Linked DNA regions of Homo sapiens: region 2 is linked to region 1. The links are contacts of gene promoters, found by promoter capture Hi-C in human tissues and cell types (Jung and others, 2019). All regions are on one chromosome and are shown on one strand. Each heading gives the region's core, a stretch centred on a gene start or on the middle of the fragment in contact. The rest is flanking DNA. Distances are from core to core; before and after follow the strand shown. Region 1 overlaps GTF3C2 (general transcription factor IIIC subunit 2). Region 2 holds the start of ZNF513 (zinc finger protein 513).

Evidence for each region. The method cuts DNA at HindIII sites, captures the fragments that hold promoters and counts their contacts. A contact is called where the count stands out against the background at its distance.
Region 2: the fragment with the promoter of ZNF513 here is called in contact with a fragment that was not itself captured in region 1 in 12 of the 25 tissues and cell types used here (H1 embryonic stem cells, IMR-90 fibroblasts, bladder and 9 more).

Annotation. Positions count from the first base shown.
Region 1 is chr2:27,345,684-27,350,751 of GRCh38, reverse strand. The region is part of intron 1 of GTF3C2 (general transcription factor IIIC subunit 2); the gene reads left to right. Among named protein-coding and RNA genes, the nearest start is that of GTF3C2, 8.5 kb to the left of the region's middle. The HindIII fragment of the contact is 7,211 bases long and covers 1-5,068 here.
Region 2 is chr2:27,376,749-27,382,080 of GRCh38, reverse strand. ZNF513 (zinc finger protein 513) reads left to right here and starts at 1,347. Exons shown (of 4, transcript NM_144631.6): 1 at 1,347-1,609; 2 at 1,833-1,988; 3 at 3,027-3,614; 4 at 3,710-4,846. The coding sequence starts at 1,555. The coding sequence ends at 4,536. It overlaps PPM1G (protein phosphatase, Mg2+/Mn2+ dependent 1G), which reads left to right. Exons shown (of 10, transcript NM_177983.3): 10 at 276-882. The coding sequence ends at 482. SNX17 (sorting nexin 17) reads right to left here. Exons shown (of 15, transcript NM_014748.4): 15 at 4,546-5,332. RefSeq lists a silencer at 1,375-1,594 and enhancers at 2,735-3,605, 4,220-4,379. The HindIII fragment of the contact is 10,400 bases long and covers 1-5,332 here.

The DNA.
Region 1 (5,068 bases), core at 2,255-4,754:
TGGTCGGGAACTCCTGACCTTAGGTGATCCACCTGCCTCAGCCTCCCAGAGTGCTGGGATTACAGGCATGAGCCACCGCACCCAGCCTCAGCTAATTTTCAAAAAAAATTTTTTTGCAGAGACAAAGTCTTGCTGTGTTGCCCAGGCTGATCTTGAACTCCTGGCCTCAAGCGATCCTCCCACCTTGGCCTCCCAAAGTGTTGAGATTACAGGCATGAGCCACTGCGCCCAGCCCAGCACATGATTCTTGAGCCAGCAGCTGTAAATAAGAGCACCTTCCCAGTTTGATAAGCACTTGTTCCTACCAACTGTTTTTCCCTCAACCCTCATCGTGATCATTTATTTATGCAAGTGTTTTTCAGCTTGAGTGTGCGTCAGAATCCCCTGAAGAGCTTGTTAAAACACAAGGTGCTGGCCCCATCCAGAATTGCTGATTCGGTAGGTCTGGGGTAGAACTAGGAATTTGCATTTTAACAAATTTGCAGGTGATACTGATGCTGCAGTTTCTGGGGCCACACTTTGTGAACCTCTGATATGAACTGTTTAATACCGTGTAGTGAATTCCTTTCTGCTTGAACTGATTGGAGAGGATTCTGTTCTATGCAACTGAGCCAATATGGGGGGAATATTTATTTTATTTATATCTTCATTGTTCTTATCTACTTTGTCATTGATTAAAAGAAGTTATTGTTCTGTGTCATGAACATTTTGCTTTGTATCTTTTGATGCTGTTATTTGATGTTTAAATGTTCCTGACATTTATATCTTTTATATGATTTGAAGTTTTATTCATTATAAACTACTCCCTTTTGGGCTGGGCACAGTGGCTCATGCTTGTAATCCCAGCACTTTGGGAAACTGAGGCAGGGGGATCATTTGAGGTCAGGAGTTCAAGGCCAGCCTGGCCAACACAGCCAGACCCCGTCTCTACTAAAAAATACAAAAGTTAGCCAGGCATGGTGGCACATGCCTGTAATCCCAGCTACTCGGGAGGCTGAGGCAGGAGAGTTGCTTGAACCCAGGAGGCAGAGGTTGCAGTGAGCCGAGATCACGCCACTGCATTCCAGCCTGGGCAACAGAGAGAGGCTCCGTCTCAAAAAAAAAAAATAGTACTCCCTTTATTCCTATTTAATGTTTTCCCCCTAAATTCGACTTTACTATTGTCATCAAAACTCCTCCTTTGTTTTTGCTTAGATTTTGCCCTGTACATTTTAGTTGATCTTTGTATTTTCAGCTTTTTGAGTTATTTTGTTTTAGGCATCTCTTGAAAAGCATATAGTTATTTGTCTTTTAAAATCAAATCAGGGCTGGGCGCAGTGGCTCACGCCTGTAATCCCAGCACTTTGGGAGGCCGCGGCGGGCGGATCACGAGGTCAGGAGATCGAGACCATCCTGGCTAACACGGTGAAACCCCGTCTCTACTAAAAATAAAAAAAATTAGCCGGGCATGATGGCGGGCGCCTGTAGTCCCAGCTACTCGGGAGGCTGAGGCAGGAGAATGGCGTGAACCCGGGAGGCGGAGCTTGCAGTGAGCCGAAATCGCGCCACTGCACTGCAGCCTGGGCAACAGAGCAAGACTCTGTCTCAAAAAAAAAAAAAAAAAAAAATCAAATCAGGCTGGGCACAGTGGCTCACACCTGTAATCCCAGCACTTTGGGAGGCCAAGGCAGGCAGATCACTTGAGGTCAGGAGTTTGAGACCAGCCTGGCCAACATGGTGAAACCCCATCTCTACTAAAAATACAAAAATTAGCTGGGTGTGGTGGCGGCCGCCTGTAATCCTAGCTACTGGGGAGGCTAAGGCAGGAGAATCACTTGAACCTGGGAGGCAGAGGTTGCAGTGAGCTGAGATCAGGCCACTGCACTCCAGCCTGGGTGACAAGAGCAAGACTCCATTTCAAAAATAAATAAATAAATACAAAATTAAAATCAAACCAAATCTTTATTATTTTTTCTTTTGAGATAGCATCTTGCTCTGTCTGCCCAGGCTGGGATGCAGTGGTGTGATCTTGGCTTCACCTCCCAGGCTCAAGTGATTCTCGTGCCTCAGTCTCCTGAGTAGCTGGGATCACAGGCTTGTGCCACCATGCCCAGCTAATTTTTGTATTTTTACTAGAGATGGGGTTTCGCTATGTTGGCCAGGCTGGTCTCAAATTCCTGGCCTCAAGCAATCTGCTTGCTTCGGCCTCCCAACATACTGGGAATACAGGCATGAGCCTGTACCTGGTCCTATTCTTTCTTTTAATGGATGAGTTTAAATGATATGTGTTTATTGTTATGATACATGTTTTCGGTTTTTTTGTTTGTTTTTTGTTTTTTGAGACAGAGTCTCAACTCCAGGCTGGAGTGCAGGAACGCGATCTCTGCTCACTGCAGCCTCCACCTCCCAGGCTCAAGTGATCTTCTCACTTCCAATTCCTGAGTGGCTGGGACTACAGGTCCCTGCTGCCCACCATGCCCAGCTAGTTTTTTTTTTTTTTTTCCCTCAGACGGAGTCCTGCTCTGTCGCCCAGGCTGGAGTGCAATGGCACTATCTTGGCTCACTGCAACCTCTGCCTCCCGGGTTCAAGCAGTTCTCCTGCGTCAGCCTCCCAAGTAGCTGGGATTAAGGCACGCGGCACCACACCCAGCTAATGTTTGTATTCTTAGTAGAGACAGGGTTTCACCATGTTGGCCAGGTGGTCTCAAACTCTTGACCTCGTGATTGGCCCGTCCGGGCCTCCTAAAGTGCTGGGATTACAGGCGTGAGCCACTGCACCTGGCCCTGTTTTGGTATTTTTCTGTAGAGACAGGGTTTTGCCATGTTGCCCAGGCTGGTCTCAAACTCCTGGGCTCAAGGGATCCTCCCACCTCTGCCTCCCTAAGTGCAGGGATTACAGGCATGAGCCACTGGGTCCTGCCCTAAACTCACCCTTTTATAATGACACTGATCTGACTGGTCAGGGTGGAGCCCTTGTGGCCTAATCATCTCTTAAAGATCCCACCTCTTAATACTGTTACAAATGGGAATTAAATTTCAACATGAGTTTTGGAGGGGATGTTCAAACCCTAGCTCTTGGATTTCACAATCCATTTGATGTTTTTGAAAGTGCAGGAATTTTTTGTTGGAAATTTCCTTCTGTTTTCTGAATCACTTCTTCAAAAGGGTACTCTTCATCTTTCTATCCTTTTCTTTCGGTATATGCATAGGTCCTTTTGGCTTGTGACTAATTTTGAATGGGGTAGTTCTGTCAGGGCTTCTTATTTATCACAGGAATAATATAGATGGATTTTCACTGACCTTTATTTACCTTGGCAGTGTTATAATGTATCTTTAGCACATGTGTTTTCTTGTATCCTCAGCACCTGCCTCAGAGGGTTGGCCATTGCTATAGTTTATAATCTGGTTAGACTGTAGCTTCTTCAAGTGAGACAGTTGGAAGCTTTTATTTTATATTTCTTATGGGATTTGTATAAGCACACTTTTCCACTGAGACTGATGAATTGTTTATTCTTAAGGCGTATATATAGATCTGTGGGGGGCGGGGTCCCATCCTGGGATTTGAACTATGTCTGCCCCTTTGTCACAGACAGGCAGGTTATTCTGGCCAAAAACTGGACCCTTGGAGAGTTCTGTGTTGCTTAGGTTTCGGGTTTGGTGGTCAGTGATTTATCTTAGTTTACTTTGGCCCATGGTTATACAACTAATTTTTTGGGGTTTGAAGAAAATGAAGACTCATGACAATTTAGTCAATTCTTCAATGTGGAAAGGTTTCTTGGCCAGACATGGTGGCTTACACCTGTAATCCCAGCACTTTGGGAGGCCAAGGTGGGAGGATCTCTTGAGGTTAGGAATTCAAGACAAGCCTGGGCAAAATAGCAAGACCCAATCTGCACAAAAAAATTAAAAACGTATCTGGGCGTATTGGTGCACATTTGAAGTCTTGGCTATTTGGGAAGCTGGGGAGGGAGGACTGTTTGAACCCAGGAGTTAGTGGCTGCAGTGAGCTGTGATCACACCACCACATTCTAGTCTGGGTGACAGAGCGAGATCCTGACTCAGAAAAAAAAAATTTTTTTTAATTTTTAAAAATTAAAAAAGGCAAGGCATAGTGGTTTATGCCTGTAATCCCAGCATTTTGGGAGACGAAGTTGAGAGAATTGCTTGAGTCCAGGAGTTTGAGTATGTAATCACGCCACTGCACTCCAGCCTGGGCAACATGGTGAAACTTAGTCTCTACAAAAAATACAAAAATTAGTCAGGCATGGTGGTGCATGCCTGTAGTCCCAACTACTCAGGCGGCTGAGGTGGGAGGATCACTTGAGCCTGGGAGGTCCAGGCTGCAGTGAGCTGTGATTGCACCATTGCACTCCAGCCTGGGTTACAGAATGAGACTCTGTCTCAAAAAAAAAAAAAAAAAAAAAAAAAAAAAAAAAAAAAAAGGTATCAGAATGGGCACGGTGGCTAACACCTATAATCCCAACATTTTGGGAGACCGAGGTGGAAAGATTGCTTGAGCCCAGGAATTCAAGACCATCCTGGGCAACGTAGTGAGACCTCATCTCTACAAAAAATTTAAAAATTAGCCAGGCATGGTGATACATGCCTATAGTCCTAGCTACTTGGGAGGCTGAGGCAGGAGGATTGCTTGAGCTCTGGAGGACAAGGCTGCAGTGAGCTGTGATCACACCACTGCACCACTCCAGTCTGGGTGATAGAACAAGAGCGTGTCTCAAAAAAAAAAAAAAAAAAAAAAGTGGCGGGGCACAGTGGCTCAAGTCTGTAATCCTAGCACTTTGCGGGGCCAAGGTGGGCAGATCACCTGAGGTCAGGAGTCCAAGACCAGCCTGGTCAACATGGTGAAACCCCATCTCTACTAAAAATACAAAAATTTAGCTGGGTGTGGTGGCGGGCACCTGTTGTCCCAGCTACTCGGAAGGCCGAGGCAGGAGAATTGCTTGAACCTGGGAGGCAGAGGTTGCAGTGAGCCGACATCACGCCACTGCACTCCAGCCTGGGCAACGATAGTGAAACTCCATCTCAAAAAAAAAAAAAAAGGAAAAGCTTTCTTAACATAATAGGATGTTCC
Region 2 (5,332 bases), core at 98-2,597, 33 kb before region 1:
AGGGTTCACTCTTTTAATCTGAGCTAAGTCGGCAATCTGGGAGCATTATCAGTAATTGCTGACAGACGCTAAACCCCGACTCCAAAGTTCCACCTTCTGTCATTTCCCTGACTTAGCCTTATGCCTTATGGACTAGCAGGTGGGCCGTTGTGTGATACCTCTTGCCCATTCCTCTCCTACCACCCTGACTCAGCAAGCCAGCCCTCTTGTGGGACTGTAGATTCCTGGCAAGGTGTTCAAACCCTGTGGCTGAGCTACCCCCATCCCTTTCTTAGCTGCTGGATCAGTGCCTGGCACCAGACACTTCTGGGGATGGTACAGGGTGTGACAACATGACCTGCATCATCATTTGCTTCAAGCCCCGAAACACAGCAGAGCTCCAGCCAGAGAGTGGCAAGCGAAAACTAGAGGAGGTGCTCTCTACTGAGGGGGCTGAAGAAAATGGCAACAGCGACAAGAAGAAGAAGGCCAAGCGAGACTAGCAGTCATCCAGACCCCTGCCCACCTAGACTGTTTTCTGAGCCCTCCGGACCTGAGACTGAGTTTTGTCTTTTTCCTTTAGCCTTAGCAGTGGGTATGAGGTGTGCAGGGGGAGCTGGGTGGCTTCACTCCGCCCATTCCAAAGAGGGCTCTCCCTCCACACTGCAGCCGGGAGCCTCTGCTGTCCTTCCCAGCCGCCTCTGCTCCTCGGGCTCATCACCGGTTCTGTGCCTGTGCTCTGTTGTGTTGGAGGGAAGGACTGGCGGTTCTGGTTTTTACTCTGTGAACTTTATTTAAGGACATTCTTTTTTATTGGCGGCTCCATGGCCCTCGGCCGCTTGCACCCGCTCTCTGTTGTACACTTTCAATCAACACTTTTTCAGACTAAAGGCCAAAACCTAATCGTACGCATCGTGTCCTTTTTTTTCTGCTGCCGTGGCCCCCGACTTGGTCCCATCTGTAGCATGTGGCGAGCCCCCATGTGAGTGTGTGCGTGTGCTCGTGTGTGTCCTGCGCGTGTATAGGAGAGCCCAGAGCGAGCTGCTGGTAGGCCGGCCTGGCGGGCGTCGCGGCTGCCCCTCGCCCCCTCCTGCAGCCAGAAATGATCTAGTTCCCCCAGGGACAGGTTGGGACCGGTCTGGCTGGCCTGAAGCCTGGAGTCGGGCAGGACGCCTCCTGCGCTGCTCCCTGGCCGGCTCCCCGCTGCCGCTGATTGGCTTGCTCCCCGCCTCGTCACAATCACTTCCCGGTCACGCCATTGAGGCTCCCGCCGCGGCCGCTTCCCACGGACTACGCGTCCCGTGCGTCTCTGCGGCGGCGGAAGCGGAAGCGAGTACGGAGGTACCAGCTGGTCTCCGTAGGGGGGTAGGGGGCTCCATGAATGGAAGCGGCGGCGGCGGCGGGAGCGGCCTGAGCTGGGCGCCGGGGCCAGGGCCGGGGGCTGCCCAGGGCCCGCGCCGCTGCATGGGGGCGGCCCGCGGGCCCTGAGAGGAAGGGCAGACAGGCGGGCCGAGATAGGAGGGGCGGGGTCGGGCGGCCGCAGGCCGGAGGCGCGTCGGGCTGGAGCCGGTCACGATGCCCCGAAGGAAGCAAAGCCACCCGCAGCCCGTGAAATGCGAGGGGGTCAAAGGTCAGGGGTCAGGGGCCTTGAGGGGAGAGGAGCGGGGGTGGGGTCAGTGGAGTGGGCTCAGGTCAGGGTGGAGGGGGACTCCTGAGGGATGAAGTGGGCGATCCAGACTCCTAGCTTCCCACCGAGGCACTAAGGGAATCAGAGTGGGTCAGCGAGTACGGGAAGTGTGGTCCACGAGGGCTGGTTCCTGAGGGAGAATCCACAAGCCCCCTCCCCTCTTCAGTGGATACTGAAGACTCCCTCGACGAAGGACCCGGGGCCCTGGTATTGGAGAGTGATTTGCTACTAGGCCAGGATCTGGAGTTTGAGGAGGAAGAGGAAGAGGAGGAAGGCGACGGCAACAGTGACCAGCTCATGGGCTTCGAGAGAGACTCGGAAGGTGGGTTTTCGGGTCTTGGTTAAGGATTAGCGGCCGCTGGAGACCCCAGCCCTTCAGGAGGCAGGTTAGGTGAACAGAACACCATTTCCTGCCACAACCGAGGGCTGGTTTAGTTTACATTTGAGCTAGATGACTTCATTTGTTTAATGGTCCAATCACTTCCATCACTTTGTTGAGGTGAAGTTCTGAGGCCTGGTCAAAGGTGATAGGAATAGGAGGGTGGGTGAATCACATGGAGCAACTGATTAAAAGTAAATGCCCTGTCTCTCTCCCTAGCCCATTCCTTATGTGTATTTACTTTTAAGAGAGGTTCAGGGAAGCAAACTCTCTGTAAATCATTCAACCCAGTATTTAGGTCTAATCTAACTCCCTTTCACCTGCAGCGTAAGCTCCTTTTGTATTGAGAGGTTTTAGTTTCTGTCTTTATCCTTCCATGTCCCTCTTCCCTGTGATCTTAGCATCACCCTACCCTAATTTGCTGCACTACCCATCCACTTATGCAAGATGTTTTTTGAAAGTCATTGAGGGGATCCATGTAAATATCTGTTCTTTAGGCAGGCAAGTGGTATTACATGCATTACTTTCATTGTCTCCACTTCCCTCCAAATTTTGCCTCAGAGATAGGTTTTATTTTATATCAGCTCCTTACTAAAAGGGGCCTTAGCAATAGAGCTTAGAAAAAGGTCTTGGGGGCTCTCTCCCTTTCGTATTTTTACTTTCTTGTCTCAAGAATTAATTTCATTATGGATTCATTTCAGTCTGTGATCCACTGTGAGCCCTTGATCCTTGACCATTGAGGGAAACTAGATACAGGTCAATTCTACCATCACTAGATTAGTCCAGTGTAAGAGGTAGACAATTCATGTTGAATTTTCTGGAATTACTGCAGGGGAGACCTTGATTCCTAGGAGGGAACTAAAGGGATCATCAAAGCTAAGGGTGGAGCCAAGCAAGTGGGGAGACCATAAGTGAAAAGGGGAGAGTTTGGAGCCTGATCCTACCCTATGCTGATGTCTCTTCTTATGTCTATTTCACCAGGAGACTCTCTGGGGGCCAGGCCTGGGCTTCCCTATGGGCTGAGCGACGATGAGTCTGGGGGCGGCCGGGCACTAAGTGCGGAGAGTGAAGTTGAGGAGCCAGCCAGGGGTCCAGGGGAGGCCAGGGGTGAGAGGCCAGGCCCAGCCTGCCAGCTGTGTGGGGGGCCGACAGGTGAGGGGCCGTGTTGTGGGGCAGGAGGGCCGGGTGGGGGGCCCCTGCTGCCCCCACGGCTACTGTACTCATGCCGCCTCTGCACCTTCGTGTCCCACTACTCGAGCCACCTGAAGCGGCACATGCAGACACACAGCGGAGAGAAGCCGTTCCGCTGTGGCCGCTGCCCCTACGCCTCAGCCCAGCTCGTCAACCTGACACGACATACCCGCACCCACACTGGCGAGAAGCCCTACCGCTGTCCCCACTGCCCCTTTGCCTGCAGCAGCCTGGGCAACCTGAGGCGGCATCAGCGTACCCACGCAGGGCCCCCCACTCCTCCCTGCCCGACCTGTGGCTTCCGCTGCTGTACTCCACGACCAGCCCGGCCTCCCAGTCCCACAGAGCAGGAGGGGGCGGTGCCCCGGCGACCTGAAGGTAAGACACACCAGGGACCAAAGATCTTGGGACATGGGTGGCTGACCCTAGGAATGCTTGGATTGGATTCATAGCCCAGGTCTTTGTCCCCACAGATGCTCTGCTCCTTCCAGATTTGAGCCTCCATGTGCCACCAGGTGGTGCCAGTTTCCTGCCAGACTGTGGGCAGCTGCGGGGTGAAGGGGAGGGCCTCTGCGGGACTGGATCAGAACCACTGCCAGAGCTGCTATTCCCTTGGACCTGCCGGGGCTGTGGACAAGAGCTGGAGGAGGGTGAGGGTAGTCGGCTGGGAGCTGCCATGTGTGGGCGCTGCATGCGAGGAGAGGCTGGAGGGGGTGCCAGTGGGGGGCCCCAGGGCCCCAGTGACAAAGGCTTTGCCTGTAGCCTCTGCCCCTTTGCCACTCACTATCCCAACCACCTGGCCCGGCACATGAAGACACACAGTGGTGAGAAGCCCTTCCGCTGCGCCCGCTGTCCTTATGCCTCTGCTCATCTGGATAACCTGAAACGGCACCAGCGCGTCCATACAGGAGAGAAGCCCTACAAGTGCCCCCTCTGCCCTTATGCCTGTGGCAATCTGGCCAACCTCAAGCGTCATGGTCGCATCCACTCTGGTGACAAACCTTTTCGGTGTAGCCTTTGCAACTACAGCTGCAACCAGAGCATGAACCTCAAACGTCACATGCTGCGGCACACAGGCGAGAAGCCCTTCCGCTGTGCCACCTGCGCCTATACCACGGGCCACTGGGACAACTACAAGCGCCACCAGAAGGTGCATGGCCACGGTGGGGCAGGAGGGCCTGGTCTCTCTGCCTCTGAGGGCTGGGCCCCACCTCATAGCCCACCCTCTGTTTTGAGCTCTCGGGGCCCACCAGCCCTGGGGACTGCTGGCAGCCGGGCTGTCCACACAGACTCATCCTGAACTAGGTCCTTCTTCCCCATGTTTTATACAGACGGACCAGAAGCCACCTTTTTCTCCCCCGCTGGCCAGGGGCTCCACACAGACTAACGTAGGCACTATAAGGACCAGCCCAACCCCATGGGCGGGGGGGCCCATATGGACCAGGGGACCTTGCCTTGACTGAGGCACTTCACGAGCTCAGTGAGAAGGGCCCTGTATTCACCTCCACTGCCCCCAGGGGCTGTGGACAAACCGGCTGGGGGACTGCCCAGCCTCCCACCTGTTTATTTAACTTATTTCAGTGCTTTATAATAAAGGAAACACTAACAAAGCCATGTCTATGCTGAATTGGCAATGGCAGGCAATTTGGCCTTACCCTTAGCATAGTAGTCCATGCTGTGATGGGGGAAGCAGGGGCAGTGAGAGGGAACCAGAGGTAGGCAGCAGTCAGGCTGAGTTTAATGATGGGGAACTGGGCCAGACCAAACACAGACCTCTGCCCATCCCCTTGGCCTTTGGCCCATGGCTCCAAGAGGCCAGAAGCGGCCCAGAGGGAGATATGGTTCCTCCCCAAGGCAGGCAGCCATGGTCCCTTAGACTTTGTGCAAAATACTAAATGCTAATTTGGCATCGAGGGCCAGCTCTGAAAAGAGAAGGGGCAATCCTCTGTGCAGCCAGCCCAGGGGACAAGGAAAGGTAGGATACGAGGCCCCTGGCCAAGAGAAAAGGGGTAGGTAGGAAAGAAGAAGGAAAAGACCCCTCCGCCCCTAGCATGGGGGACACAGGCACAGGGCAAGTTTCTGTAAATTCCTCTGGG